Regions from separate parts of the Homo sapiens genome. Here regions 1, 3 and 4 are each linked to region 2. Evidence: promoter capture Hi-C in 16 types of primary human blood cells and fetal thymus (Javierre and others, 2016). All regions are on one chromosome and are shown on one strand. Each heading gives the region's core, a stretch centred on a gene start or on the middle of the fragment in contact. The rest is flanking DNA. Distances are from core to core; before and after follow the strand shown.

What was found. The method cuts DNA at HindIII sites, captures the fragments that hold promoters and counts their contacts. A CHiCAGO score of 5 or more calls a contact.
Region 1: a fragment that was not itself captured here is called in contact with the fragment with the promoter of PCDHB7 in region 2 in 2 of 17 cell types (M0 macrophages and M1 macrophages); the score reaches 5.0 in M0 macrophages.
Region 3: a fragment that was not itself captured here is called in contact with the fragment with the promoter of PCDHB7 in region 2 in 2 of 17 cell types (M1 macrophages and M0 macrophages); the score reaches 7.9 in M1 macrophages.
Region 4: a contact is called between a fragment that was not itself captured here and the fragment with the promoter of PCDHB7 in region 2, in 4 of 17 cell types (M0 macrophages, M2 macrophages, M1 macrophages and 1 more). The highest score is 7.7, in M0 macrophages.

What each region holds. Positions count from the first base shown.
Region 1 is chr5:141,271,371-141,274,623 of GRCh38, reverse strand. No RefSeq gene overlaps it. Among named protein-coding and RNA genes, the nearest start is that of PCDHB15, 28 kb to the right of the region's middle. The HindIII fragment of the contact is 9,791 bases long and covers 1-3,253 here.
Region 2 is chr5:141,170,917-141,174,190 of GRCh38, reverse strand. PCDHB7 (protocadherin beta 7) reads right to left here and starts at 1,547. Exons shown (of 1, transcript NM_018940.4): 1 at 1-1,547. The coding sequence starts at 1,355. It also overlaps PCDHB@. The HindIII fragment of the contact is 10,030 bases long and covers 1-3,274 here.
Region 3 is chr5:141,287,170-141,290,464 of GRCh38, reverse strand. No RefSeq gene overlaps it. Among named protein-coding and RNA genes, the nearest start is that of SLC25A2, 15 kb to the left of the region's middle. The HindIII fragment of the contact is 1,340 bases long and covers 640-1,979 here.
Region 4 is chr5:141,249,010-141,252,211 of GRCh38, reverse strand. PCDHB15 (protocadherin beta 15) reads right to left here. Exons shown (of 1, transcript NM_018935.4): 1 at 2,847-3,202. It also overlaps PCDHB@. Among named protein-coding and RNA genes, the nearest start is that of PCDHB15, 5.2 kb to the right of the region's middle. The HindIII fragment of the contact is 3,908 bases long and covers 1-3,202 here.

The sequences.
Region 1 (3,253 bases), core at 559-3,058, 100 kb before region 2:
TATTGCTTTGGTAAATGGTGTAAACTCTAGGACTTCTCATGGGTCATAATTATCTAGTGGATTTTCTGGCCTTACATAGTTGTGATGGCTAATTTTATGTGTTAACTTGACTGGGCTAAGGGATTTCCAGATAGCTGGTAAAACATTATTTCTGAGTGTGTTTGAGGGCATTTGTAGAAGAGATCAGCATCTGAATCAGTAGACCGAGTAAACAAGATCCATCTTCACCAGTGCGGGCAGGCATCATCCAATCTCTTGAAGCCCTGCATAAGACAAACAGGCTAAGGGGGAGCGAATTCTCTCCTTCTCTTTTTTAGCTGGGACATCCATCTTCTCCCACCTTTGGATAATGGGGCTACTAGTTCTTGGGCCCTGGGACTCTGGGACTTATGTCACTGACTTCCCTGGCCCTGAAGTTTGCAGTCAGCAGGTAGTGAGACTTCTCAGTCTCCATAGTTGTGTGAGCTGATTTTCATAATAAATCGCACAGCCACCCCCTCTACACACTTCCCCCTATCGTAGGTTCTGTTTCTCTAAGACCCCAAACTTAAGAATGTAAATTTTCCTAGGCTTTCTAATCTCTTCCTCTACTGTCTGCCATGAGAATTCTGGTTATTTTGATTTAACTTAGTGTGTGCCATCACTTTTTGATGCTTCTAGAAGTCATACTAATAGTGTTTATTCCATATAAATGCTTGTCAGAGTGTTAATTCCTATGTCTCCCAAATCAATAAACTCTTATCTAATCTTATGCTCCAACTGCCTTAATTGAGCAACCTCAGAATCCAGTACCAGGAGCATTCCCCTGGCTCCTGCTGGTATATGCTATCTAGGACTTGTAGCTCTTTTAGGGTAGAGCTCTTTTACTCCCTCATTAGGCTTAGCATATCTACAGGGTTATGCTGTGAGCTAACTCTACGTGAGTTTAGTGGCCGAAAGGGGAGGTAGAGGCAGATTTTGAGGGTAATATATATTGTCTTATAGGGAAGAAGCCTCTGCATATCTTTGAGGAAAGGGCTATCTTTTAATAAGGAGGAGTGGACCACTTCTGCAGGCTCACAGGGTCAAGGAAAATCTTGAAATTAAAGATGCAGGGGATATTGATCCCTATATTCTCATCTTATGACTCAGGATACCATCTTTTCCCAAATGGAGCCCTCAGTCTGGCACAGTAGACTTGTCTAGGAGTTAACCTTATCAGGAACTTAGCTAATCTGACAGTTATATATCCTGGCCTTGTCCTCAGCTTTCTCTGCCCTCCTTCTGTAGGAAATAGAAGCCTCTTTTTACTCCACCTAGGAATCATGCTGGCTTTTATGTCTGGCTTTCAATTTCTGTTAATTACTCTCAAGTCAATTGAATTTGGCCATAGACACACATTCCCATTGTCCATATGGCTACTTTTTGCTGACTGTTTCTCAAATGCCCTGTAGATCGAAACAGTTAATGCATTCTCTTCCACTAGCGGAATTCACTATCCCAGTTCACCACCAGTGAAAATTTTAACAACTGGACTGCCACCTTGTGGCAGGAGCTGTGTTCCACCTACTACTAGTTATAGGGCCCTTATTTGCCAGCTGAGAAATGATTCAGCTTGAAACCCCCATCTTATTGCCTGCTTTCTAAGACAACTCCCATTACCAATAGTTACATAATTCCCTGGGAAGCAGGCTACGAGATGGAGTTTATTGAAAAAGATGTTTATTAGGGTGTACCCTTGGGATTACCACCAGTTGAAGAAAAGGGGAAGGAAGTAGGCAGAGGGAAAAGTCCAACTATGATGCAGTTCCTACTATAGCCTTGCTAACCCCACCAGGAGCTTAGAAGCCAAAATGAACCTTTAGAGTTGTTCCACATTGAGCCAACATGGCTGGAACTTCATACCTTTGTCTTGATCTGCCATTAAATGCAGGATGCCCCAGGAAGGGCATGACCTTAGATGAGGCAGATGTGTGTAACTGAGGACATCCCTGAGGATTCTGACAGCTGAACTCTGTCTACTGATAACACTCCTAGCACTTAGGCAAAAGGACCTCCTTGAAGATGGATGGGGTGGTACATCTCCATGTCCATTAAAAACATTTTTTAGGCTGAGTGCAGAGGCTTACACCTGCAATCCCAGCATTTTGGGAGGCCGAGGCAGGAGGATCACTTGAGCCCAGGAGTAGAAGGCCAGCCTGGGTAATATAGTGAGACCCCCATCTCTACAAAAAAAACCCAAAAAATTAGTCAGGCATGGTGGCACGCACCTGTGATTCTAGCTACTCAGGAGGCTGAGGTGGGAGGATCACTTGAGCCCTGGAGGTTGAGGCTGCAGTGAGCCATGGTCACACCACTGCACTCCAGCCTGGGTGTCTCTGTCTCAAAAAAACCAAACAAAATAAAATGGGGAAAAAAGCCTTTGTTTTTCCCCACAGAGCTCAGGGAAACATTTACTTATGTTTACTGGTTTGTTATAAAGGATGTTCCAAAGGATACAGAAGCGATGCATAGGGCAAGGTATAGGAGAGGAGGGGAGCAGAGCTTCAATACCCTACCAAGGCACACCACCTTCCAGGAACCTCCTAGTTTGCCAGGTTTGCAGCTATTCAAAAGCTCCCCAAACCCTGTCCTTTGGGAGTTTTAACAGAGGCTTCACTACATAGGCATGATTGATTAAACCATTGATCATTGGTGATCAACTTAACCTTCAGCACCTCTCCTCTTCCTGGAGGTTGCAGGGTGGGAAAGTCCTAACCCTTTAACCCTGTCTTAGTCTTTTCTGTGACCAGCCCCCAATTCTGAAGCTGCCCAGGGGCTTCCAGCCACCAGTCATCTCATTAGGATACAAAGACATCACTCTGGAGTTTCTAAGGATTTTAATAGTTGTATGCCAGGAAATGAGGTCAAGGGCCAAATACATAATTCATGATATCACAGTCTACCTCCGATGTGTAATTCCTTACTTAAAAAGACGTACAACTCAAAAGACACTGCCACATTACTAGAATCTTATTCAATTATTAATAATTAGTTCAGTCCATTATCATATTGTATGAATTTGTATCCCAGGGTGAGGCCACTCAAGTTTGCAGGATTTTCATTGATCTTATCAGGTTCTAAAAGCAGCAGTGGTCTTGGCTTCACCCTGTAAGACACCTGGTATAATTGAACTAAGAGACAATGTCATCTCTTGCTCTGAGCCTTTTTCAAGGTGTTAATGTAATGTGATACTAGATTTATCTGAATTCATAACCCATTTATTCCTTTATTC
Region 2 (3,274 bases), core at 298-2,797:
GTGAAGGCGGGAGCGTTGTCATTGACGTCGGAGACCAGCACGGTTATGTTGTGCTCGGTTTTCAGCCTGGGTGTCCCCAAGTCGGTGACGGTGATGGTGATGTTGTACTCAGTGTTCCTCTCTCGATCCAAAGGTTTCTCTGTTACCAGAGTATAGAAGTTTTCGACAGATGGCTTCAGGATGAAGGGGACATCGTCCTGGATGGAGCACACTGTCTTTCCATTGTTCCCGGAATCTCTGTCTCTAATCCTAAAAACAGCCACGACTGTCTCGGGTGAGTTTTCTGCAATTGGGCTAGTAAGTGAAGACAGGAGCAGCTCGGGTCGATTATCGTTTATATCTGTTACATCAACCACTACAGTGCATTTTCCAGAAAGCCCGCCGCCGTCTTTGGCCTGAATAGTTAATGTGTAAGTTTGAATTGCCTCATAGTCCAATTGCGCTTTAAGATGAAGACTGCCAGATGTTGGATTGATTTGAAACGTTTTGAGAATTCTTTCAGTGGCGTAAGAAAATGCATAGGCTATTTCCCCATTACTTCCGGTATCTAAATCTCTGGCTGACACGGAGACAACCATGGAACCAACGGGGCTATTTTCGGGCACCTGCACCTTGTAGAGCGACCGCACAAAATCAGGGGCGTTGTCATTTACGTCTAGAACCAGAATGCGCACGAGGGCGGTCCCTGATCTTGGAGGAGAGCCGCCGTCTAAAGCGGTGAGGGTTAAACTGAACTCTGGTATCTCTTCCCGATCCAGCACTTGATTCAGCACCAATTCGGGATAGATATTCCCCTCCCCGCTATCATGGACATTAATATGGAAATAGGCATTGGGGCTGATGGTGTAGTTACTCAGGCTGTTGGTTCCAACATCTGAATCCTGTGCACTCTCTAGGAGAAATGCCGCCCCTGGAGTGGTACTTTCTAATATTTTCAAGGAAATCTCTCTGTCTAGAAATACTGGAGCGTGATCATTGATGTCTCTGACCCATAGTTCAGCACGGAAAATCTGAAAAGGTTTTTCCAATAACAACTGGAAAGGCAGCACACAGGGCTCTCTGGGGCCACACAGTTCCTCTCGGTCCAATTTCTCATTTAGAAGTAGATCACCAGTAAGCGAACTGAGCAGTAAAATTTGCATGTTCTGGTCTGAAACAATTCTAGTTCCCCGGGCTCTCAGTTCCCCTACCCCTAACCCTAGGTCTTTTGCCAAGTTGGTAAGAAAGGTGCCTCTCTCGGTTTCCTCCGCCACAAAATACCGAAGCGGTTCGGCGCCAGCCCAAGACATTCCCAGAAATACACAAAGAAATAAGACTTGCCTTTTCTGCACAGCACGCTCCACTCTGGCCTCCATTCTTCTTTGGATCAGTCTTTCAAAATGACTTTCACTCAGCCTCCAGCGGCTCTCACAAATGGCAGCAGCGGAATCCTTTGAAATGAGCTGAATAATAGCAATGTTTGTGGGGAAGGATCCTCATTTTACCCCAATTCCTATTACCACTGTTTCCTTTCCTATGCTTTTCTCTTCAGATTGCCTCTTTGCTCTGGAATCTGTAACATCCTTTCTTTGTGAAATTATTTTTCTCTCTCTCTTTTTAGCCAGCAGCGCCACCTTGCGTTTTGTGGATGTTATTCCCGTTATCAAGACTAGAACAAAAAGATGGCGGATTGAAGGAATTCTGCAACAAGAATGATTTGTCCCCGGTATCTTTGCTGTTTCATTCCATCTTTATCCTCAAATGGTCACAGTAATGCTAGTAAGTAATAGCTGATGTCGTTTTCCCCTGTGATAATCTGGATTCGTAGAAGAATTAATTTATAGTCTTCTTAAATCTAGGAGCATGAAACTAAACTCTGACTCCCCACCGAAATCCTAAGAAAATCTCCTATTTTAAAAATGGATAGTAAAAATATATATGAGAAAATGAAACCTCCTCCTTGAAGTCAACAAATATTGGTTGGGGACATTTTATTTATTTGTAAAGTATTTAACAATAATAATGTGAATATGGCAGAATAATTGACCCTTTTCCCAATTTCTTGTGAATTAAACAATTATTCCACTTTCCAGGTCTTAACTCTTTACCTGTGATATTTCTTGGAACACTTTATGCCTCCCCCAAACCCAACCTTCATCCTTCACCTGATTTAAGTATTACATAAGAAATTATTGTTCCTCTATAATTTCAGTGACTAGAATCTCCAATGTCCAATGAATACTCTTAAAATTAGTAGTAGCAAGTTGGTCAATCTTGCATTTGTGGAAGTGCTTCTAGCATTTCATCTTCAACTATGATGGTTGATCTCAATTTGGGGTAAATATTCCTTTTTTGAATCAATAAAGTTTTCTTTTTATTCTTTCATATTTTGAAGTGATTTTTGATAGCTGTTGAAATAATACATTTATTCTTTAGTTTCTAAATTACTGAGTTATTGATATAAATGACATTTAACCATAATGTATTATTGTTTTAGTGCACAGATAGATATGATGTGTCAACATGGTTTTAGGATTTTTCTAGTTAATGTTGTTTACCTAGTGCGTGTTTGCCTTTTATGGCCTTGGTATTAAACTATTATACTGGCATCATAGAATGTGTTAGGGAGCTTTTTATCTATTTTATACAATAGTTTTAATAATTATATTATTATATGTTTCTACATGCTTAATTCCAGCTTGTCTTTTAAACTGGTTGGGTTTGGTGACTTCACTTGCAGTAGATCAGTGACTACCATTTACATTTTACCTTTGGTTATTAATCTGTTCAGGTTTTGTATTTTTAAGTAACTTGCATTTTATTTTGAAAATCATTTTATCTAGTTTGCAAATTTCTTGGAATTGTTTTCATTGCGTTATTTACCTTTAATTGTATCCCTATTTTTATTAGTGATGTTTAGCATTTTAACTCCTTTTTATTCTTGGTGAGACTTGCAAGAGCTCTACTTTACTGATATTTTGAAATGCATTTTTTTCAAAATAATATATGACCTTGGTCCAAAATTAAATAGCACTAAGAGGCTTGTTCTGCCCTTTTCCTCCTCACTTTTCTTAGTTCCCCTTCTAAGAGGTAGCCATTTTAAAACTCTTTTAGTTATCTCTTCAGTCACTAATCTGTTTTCTGATATATTTTGATTAATTAATTTTAGAAATTATCAATTGACTGTTTATTATGTTAGATTACATTTTAGGTATTTTAGATTTTCTTTTACTTACCATATATTGGGAACATTATTGTGTATTAATTATGTTTTCTTTTTCAATTTTTTTGTGAT
Region 3 (3,295 bases), core at 60-2,559, 120 kb before region 2:
TTCACCAGAAAAATAGCCACCTACCAAGTTGCCAAAGTTATACTGATCTACTCCAATAAAGATACCACATCTGGCATGACAGCTGCAATTGGAGCTACCATTTGGTTAAGTAAGTATATTGCAGTCCATTGTCATCACAACAATCTATCTAGTTTTTGCAGAGGGTGAACAAATGAATTAAATGAGAATTTGATGAGGACTATCACCTCTGTGCACTTTAAGCCTCAGGAGGTAGTGTTAATCTCTAAAAATCCTCCTAGGATGCAGCATTACTTATGATTTACTATCTTGGCTAGGGAAAGGGACATTTCAGGGTTTCCACTATAATGTGTCTTACTCTCTTATTTGTCAGAGAATAAATACAAAGGTTTGGCGTCAGAGGGTCCCAAGACCCCAGGTTTGGTAATTTTCTAAGACTCACAAAACTCAGCATGTAGTCATACTCGTGGCTATGATTTGTTACAGTAAAGGGATACAAGGCAAACTCAGCTAGGGGAAAAGGTATATCAGATAAAGTCTGGAGGAAACTAGGTATAAACTTCCAAGAATCCTCTCCCATTGGAGTCACACAGAATATGATTAAATCCTCCAGCATCAAATTGCACCAACAGGTGTAAAGTGTTATCTACCAGGCAAGCTTGCCTAAACCTAGGAATCCAGGGTTTTTATTGGGGACTGGTCATGTGGGCCTCTTCTGCCTAGTAGGTAGCAAAATCCCAGATTCCCCGAAGGAAAGCAGGTGTTCAGCATAAGCCACGTTGTTTGTATATACAGTTTAGGCACAGCAAACCACTTTTATCAGTTATGAAATGATGCAGACAATCTCAGAATCCAAGTCCCAAATGCAAGCCAAGGGCCTACCTTGTAAGCAGGGCCTTCGACGGCTTAGTAGTCTCAGGTCTGTTATATTAACTCTTTTCTTCTACCCACTTGGTCATTGTCCAAGGCATTTTTTACAAAAAGATTATTATCAATAGGATCCCACATGGCAGGGTGAGATCAGCCTACATTATTGGCCTCAGTTATGTCCTCCATGGCTTCTAGATTTGGCCAATTAAAACAAATCCTGGGAACAGGCACAGTGGTTCACGCCTGTAATCCCAGCACTTTGGGAGGCCAAGGTGAGTGGATCACCTGAGGTCAGGAGTTCAAGACTAGCCTGACCAACATGGTGAAACCCCGTCTCTACTAAATACAAAAAATTAGCCGGGTGTGGTGGCACATGCCTGTAATCCCGGCTACTCGGGAGGCTGAGGCAGGAGAATTGCTTGAACCCAGGAGGCAGAGGTTGCAGTGAGCCAAGATTGTGCCATTGCACTCCAGCCTGGGCAACAAGAGTGAAACTCTGTCTCAAAAAACAAAACAAAACAAAAAATCCCATTAACCATAAAGGTCTATCTTAGAAAGCCAGGTGTCTTTCTCCTTTAGTTTTTATATTAACCTTTTTTTTTCTTTTAATCTGGCCCAAGGCATCAACTCAGGCACAGCACATCTCTGACCAGTAAGTTAAAGTTAATCCGAATGCCTTGTAGGGCTGAGACAGTGTCATGATAGTCAGGGTACCCACAAAAGAAATATAAGCCCAGAGGGCACACACAGTACCCCTGGAAACAATGAGTTTACAGTTGTTAGGACACCCCAAGCAGGACATACAGTAGTCAGGCAATAAGGTTAAGAAGACCTCTAATGTAACCTTCCACTGTGGGCCCTCCTGCTCCAGGATTCTCAGTGCAGTCCAAATAACACAGGTCAGTCCTTAGATTCATAACGACTGCCTGAGGCAGTCAGTTCCAAACAGTTTTGTTCATGCATAATATCACTTCATCCATCTCATAAGTGTGGGTGACATCTGGAAGTGTTCCTCTGCCGTCTCATAGTCACCTGTGACCATGGGCTCAGCAATCTGTTTGAATTCAGAGTGCTCGCAGCAGCTTGGAAAGCCAGCATGGGGACTTCTCCTTCAAGAAGGGGGTAAAGCTTCCAGGAGCAGTTCTGAAAAACAAAAATCATTAACACCCTAACCTCTCCCTGTGCCTCCCAGGGGCTGGGTGTGGTTTCTCCATTGTTACAAAATCAGTGTGTCCCATTCACAATTATAACTTTATATTTTCAATCATCTCCTACTCACTAGGGCCTTTCATCCAGAAGGGTTATAAGCAAGAGGGAAAAAAGCATTTTCACAGAAAAACATTTTTACACAACTTAAGCAGAAAGACACATCATGGTAAGGAATTGGTCACAATGACCTGAATTTTCTAAGATTTTTCAAATTAAGTTTACACAGACTCTTATCCCTTTAGTCACAATCATTTATCCAGTGGCCAGCCTACCATCCCAGAGAAGAGCAGTTCCTTTTTGGGGACAGCTGCATTTAACAATCAAATTGTCTTAATATTCCAGTAAAAAGGTGAAGGAAGTAGATTCAGGCTGTAAGTCAATTGTTGCAAGTTGCAACCAATCCAGAAATCTAAACACAAATCTACAGCAGTGGGACTTTCTCCAGAGGAGGTCCAGAGTCTGATCTGTCAGGAATGGGGAGAGGGGTTACAGTCACTGTGATGTGCCCAGTCCTAAAGTGCAATTAGGAATGCAACCAGTCTCTGTATATCTCTCTGTATCAGAAATATAGAGCCAATCAGCACCTCAATTTTAGATGGCTCCATCAGAGAATAACCCCTTTCCCATGGGCATCTGACCACCATAGATGGTCCAGCCAGTATTTATGACGTTTTCATTAAGGCCCCACAAAGAGGTATCTTAAATCTGCAACAGTTGCAGAATCTATGTTCTGTTTATTGAGACTATGCCTGCTTTCAGTTTAGCACAGCTCATTCTGAGACTGAAATGGTCCATCAGAAGATAGTCAGATTTTAGCTTAGAGTCAGGTCCAGGCAATTAAGATATGTGAATTCAGGATTCCAAAAAGTCAGTAAGAAGGGATGGTGAGAACACTCTCAAAGTCCCAGTTCCCAGATGCCAGCCAAAAGCCAACCTTACAAGAAGAGCTTTCTAAGGATCACAGTATTAGACCTACTGTGTTGGCTCTTTTCTGCACTAGTGTTTTTTTGTTTGTTTGTTTGTTTTTTGTTTTTGTTTTTTGAGATAGAGTTTCGCTCTTGTTGCCTAGCCTGGAGTGCAATGTTGTGATCTCGGCTCACTGCAACCTCCGCCTCCGGGGTTCAAGCGATTCTCCTGCCTCAGCTGGGATTACAGGCATGCACCACCATGCCTGGTTAATTTCGTATTTTTAGTAGAGACGGGGTTTCTCCATGTTGGTCAGGCTGGTCTCGAACTC
Region 4 (3,202 bases), core at 618-3,117, 78 kb before region 2:
AATTGTCTAAAATTATACATAATTTCCATGTTTACAGTAATCAAACTAGAAATAGAAGTTCCATGTTGCTCTTTTAAGTAGTGGTTTGGAGGATAGTGAAGAGACACTGCAGCTTATTTTTATTATACCAAAAATATAGCTAATGGGTTTCTCAGAAAACTGTTGCTCCCATTTAAATTCATTTGTGGAAGAAATTAAAATTCTTCTCCACTTTCCAATTGTTGGAATAAGGTAGCTCCCACCTTGTGAATGCTGTCATATGACCACAACTACCTATGTATTCCAATTGCCATTTAGGAAGAAAATAAAAGCAAGGAAGGGAAATAAAGCAAGACGGTCAATGGCCTTAGATTAACATCATAAAAGGCAAGGTGAGACTTACAGAAATCTCAAAAGAAGTCTACAAAATCTGAAAGAGAAAATAGGTAAAATGAATGGCTCTGTTTATGTTGATGAGAGTCTCTATTCTGCTAGTTTCCAAAAAACTTATTTCACTGTCCTTAATTTTTTTATTCACTAAGAAACAATGAATTGTCACTCATGTTCAAAATTGTTCTAGGTGCTATGCATGACATAGAGGAGAATTGGAACTTATCCTTCAAATAGCCATAATCCACAAAAACACATGGACTGCTGATCTGCTTATGAATATTTTCAGGATCCATATTTAGTCAATTTTACTAAGTAAAATTTTTAGCCTTGCTACTTATTGCCTGTGATGGGGGCAGGGTATTCTGGATTGCTGCATAAACATCTTAGTCATCTTGCTCAGGATACCGTTAAGTCCAGATGTAAAAGCGTGCCTCGCATTTATCCGTTCACTTTCTGATTCTGTTCTCCAAAGTCAGCTTTTGAAGATGCTACTAGCCAGGAATATTTCTTGAAAATTCAGTTATTTGCATATGTTTGCCAGTTGTGAGATGATTGAATGATGGCATAAATTTAATTGCAGTAGTTCAGAGTACTGTCCCTTGATAACACCCCAGGGAAAACAATATGACTGATTCAAGACAGGCAAGGCCCCAAATTAGGGCTTATCCCAGGAGGCCTTTTGGCTTTACACATAAAAGAATTCAAGGGCAATCAGGTGTTATTAGACAGCAATCTTTTATTAAAAGGGACTGCTCCTTGCTGAGCAGGACTAACTATTTTGCAGTGCACCCAGAGTTGGCAGTAGCAGCTTATGGGTTGTTGGCAACTGTATTTATACTCACTTATACCTATTTTCACTTACATGCAAATTAAGAGGTGAGTTAATGCAAATTGAGGAGCTGGTTATTCAGAACTTTCTAGAAAAAGGGACAGTAACTTCCAGGTTGTTGCCATGGAAAAGGGCAGTAACTTCTGGGTTGCCATGACATTTGTAAATTGTCATGGGGCTGGTGGGAATCTCTTATGCTAATGAGCAGTAAGGGCAATTAGAGGTTGCCTTCAACACCAGCTGCTACTTCCTGCAGGGTTTTTCACTTCAGTTGTGCACCACCTGCTGGTTCCTGTCAATTTCTTCATTTTGTCCTGTTCTGATAGGGGAATAAGTCCTGCTGATCTCCTACCTCATTACTTCTCTGACAAATGCCTCATACATTTTAAGTAGACAACTTGGAACCTAGTCTGGCAACTGTGTAAAAAAGTAAAAGTAAAAAAAAAAAAATCACCTGCACCAATGAATGTGGCAATACATCCAGGGAAACTCCTGCTTTCAAGGCTTGGGACTAATCCTCTGTGTTTTGAGAGCTGTACTCTCTGGACTTCAGGCTCCATCCTCTGATGCATCCTTCCTTTTTCATTGGAATTGGCACATGTTTTTAGCTAAGCAGTTTTATCAGTCTATTTCTAGCTTACAGAGTTTGGGGAGGGGGGTACCACATCCTCCTTTAATTAGTTCTCTCTATCCCTTTCAATTCAAGCTGGCAGTGTTTCTGCTGATTAAACATTCTCAATAACCTTATTTCCTGTGCATTTCACAGGGATTCAATTTATTAAACAAGAGACTCCTTCGAAGTTATTTCCTGAGTAATTATGTCTATATTCCTGGCTTCTGCTGATGTGGCTGAAGATATCCATGTCATGTACCTAGTCTCTTCAAAGAGCCTTCTGTATGATTGACTACCTGATTCTTTCAACGCACTAGTAAAAGGTTGTCCTGATATGTCTGTGGCTTTCTCTCCAAAACATGCATCCTTAGCAGTGAATCTCCTGATCTTAACATCTGTTGCAGTCTGAATAGGGTGAGAATTTCCCCAACCATCAAGTCTGGGTTCCTTTTTGCTTCACAGTTCTTCTCTCAATCTAATTCCTCTCATTCTTTTCCCTCTCACATTTTACTATAAGCAGCAAGAAAAAAACAGGCTGTACATTTAACCCTTTGCCTGAAAATCTCAGTGAAATCTCCCAAGTTCATTGCTTAAAAATTCTTTCTACATAACTACAGGACACAATTCAGCTAATTTTTCTTCCACCATATAAAAGGATTCCCTTTTCTTCAGTTTCCAATAATATTTTCCTCATTTCTGCACCCTCACCAGCAGAGACTTTAACATCCATATTTCTACTCACAATCTATTTAAAGTGATGTGGTATTCTCTAAGGCAACATGTTTCTCCAACATGCTCCTCACTTCATTCTGAGTCCTTACTAGCAGATTTGTTAACACCATATTTCTGCTAACACTCTGTCCAAAGCAAGCGAGGCTTTTTCTGTCATGCCTGTCAAAGTTCTTCCAGCCTCTGCCCACTGTCCAATTCAGAAGCCATCTGCACATTTTAAGTGTTTATTACAGTAGCACCCCACTTCCAGGTATCAAAATCTGTGTTAGTTGGAGTTCAGCCAGAGAAACAGGCAGCAGATGTGTAGTAATCAATTTATTGCAAGGAAGTGACTTACTCAGTTTTGAAACGTGGCTGGACAAGTCCAAAATCTGTACAGCAGGCAGTTAGGAGGGGCAGGCTGGAATTCTGGGGCATAAGCTGAAGCTGCTGTCCTTAAACAAAATTTATTTTCATCTCACGGAAGACTCAACTCTGCTTTTATGGCCTTTCCACTGATTGAAATAGACCCACCCAGATTATCTAGGAGAGTCTCCCTATTTTAAGTTTAGCTGATTGGCAACCTTAATTCTGTTTGAACCTTAATTTCTTTGCAATATAACATATTCATAGGTTCTGGGGATTAGGGCAGGAACATCTTGGCGGTCATTATTTTG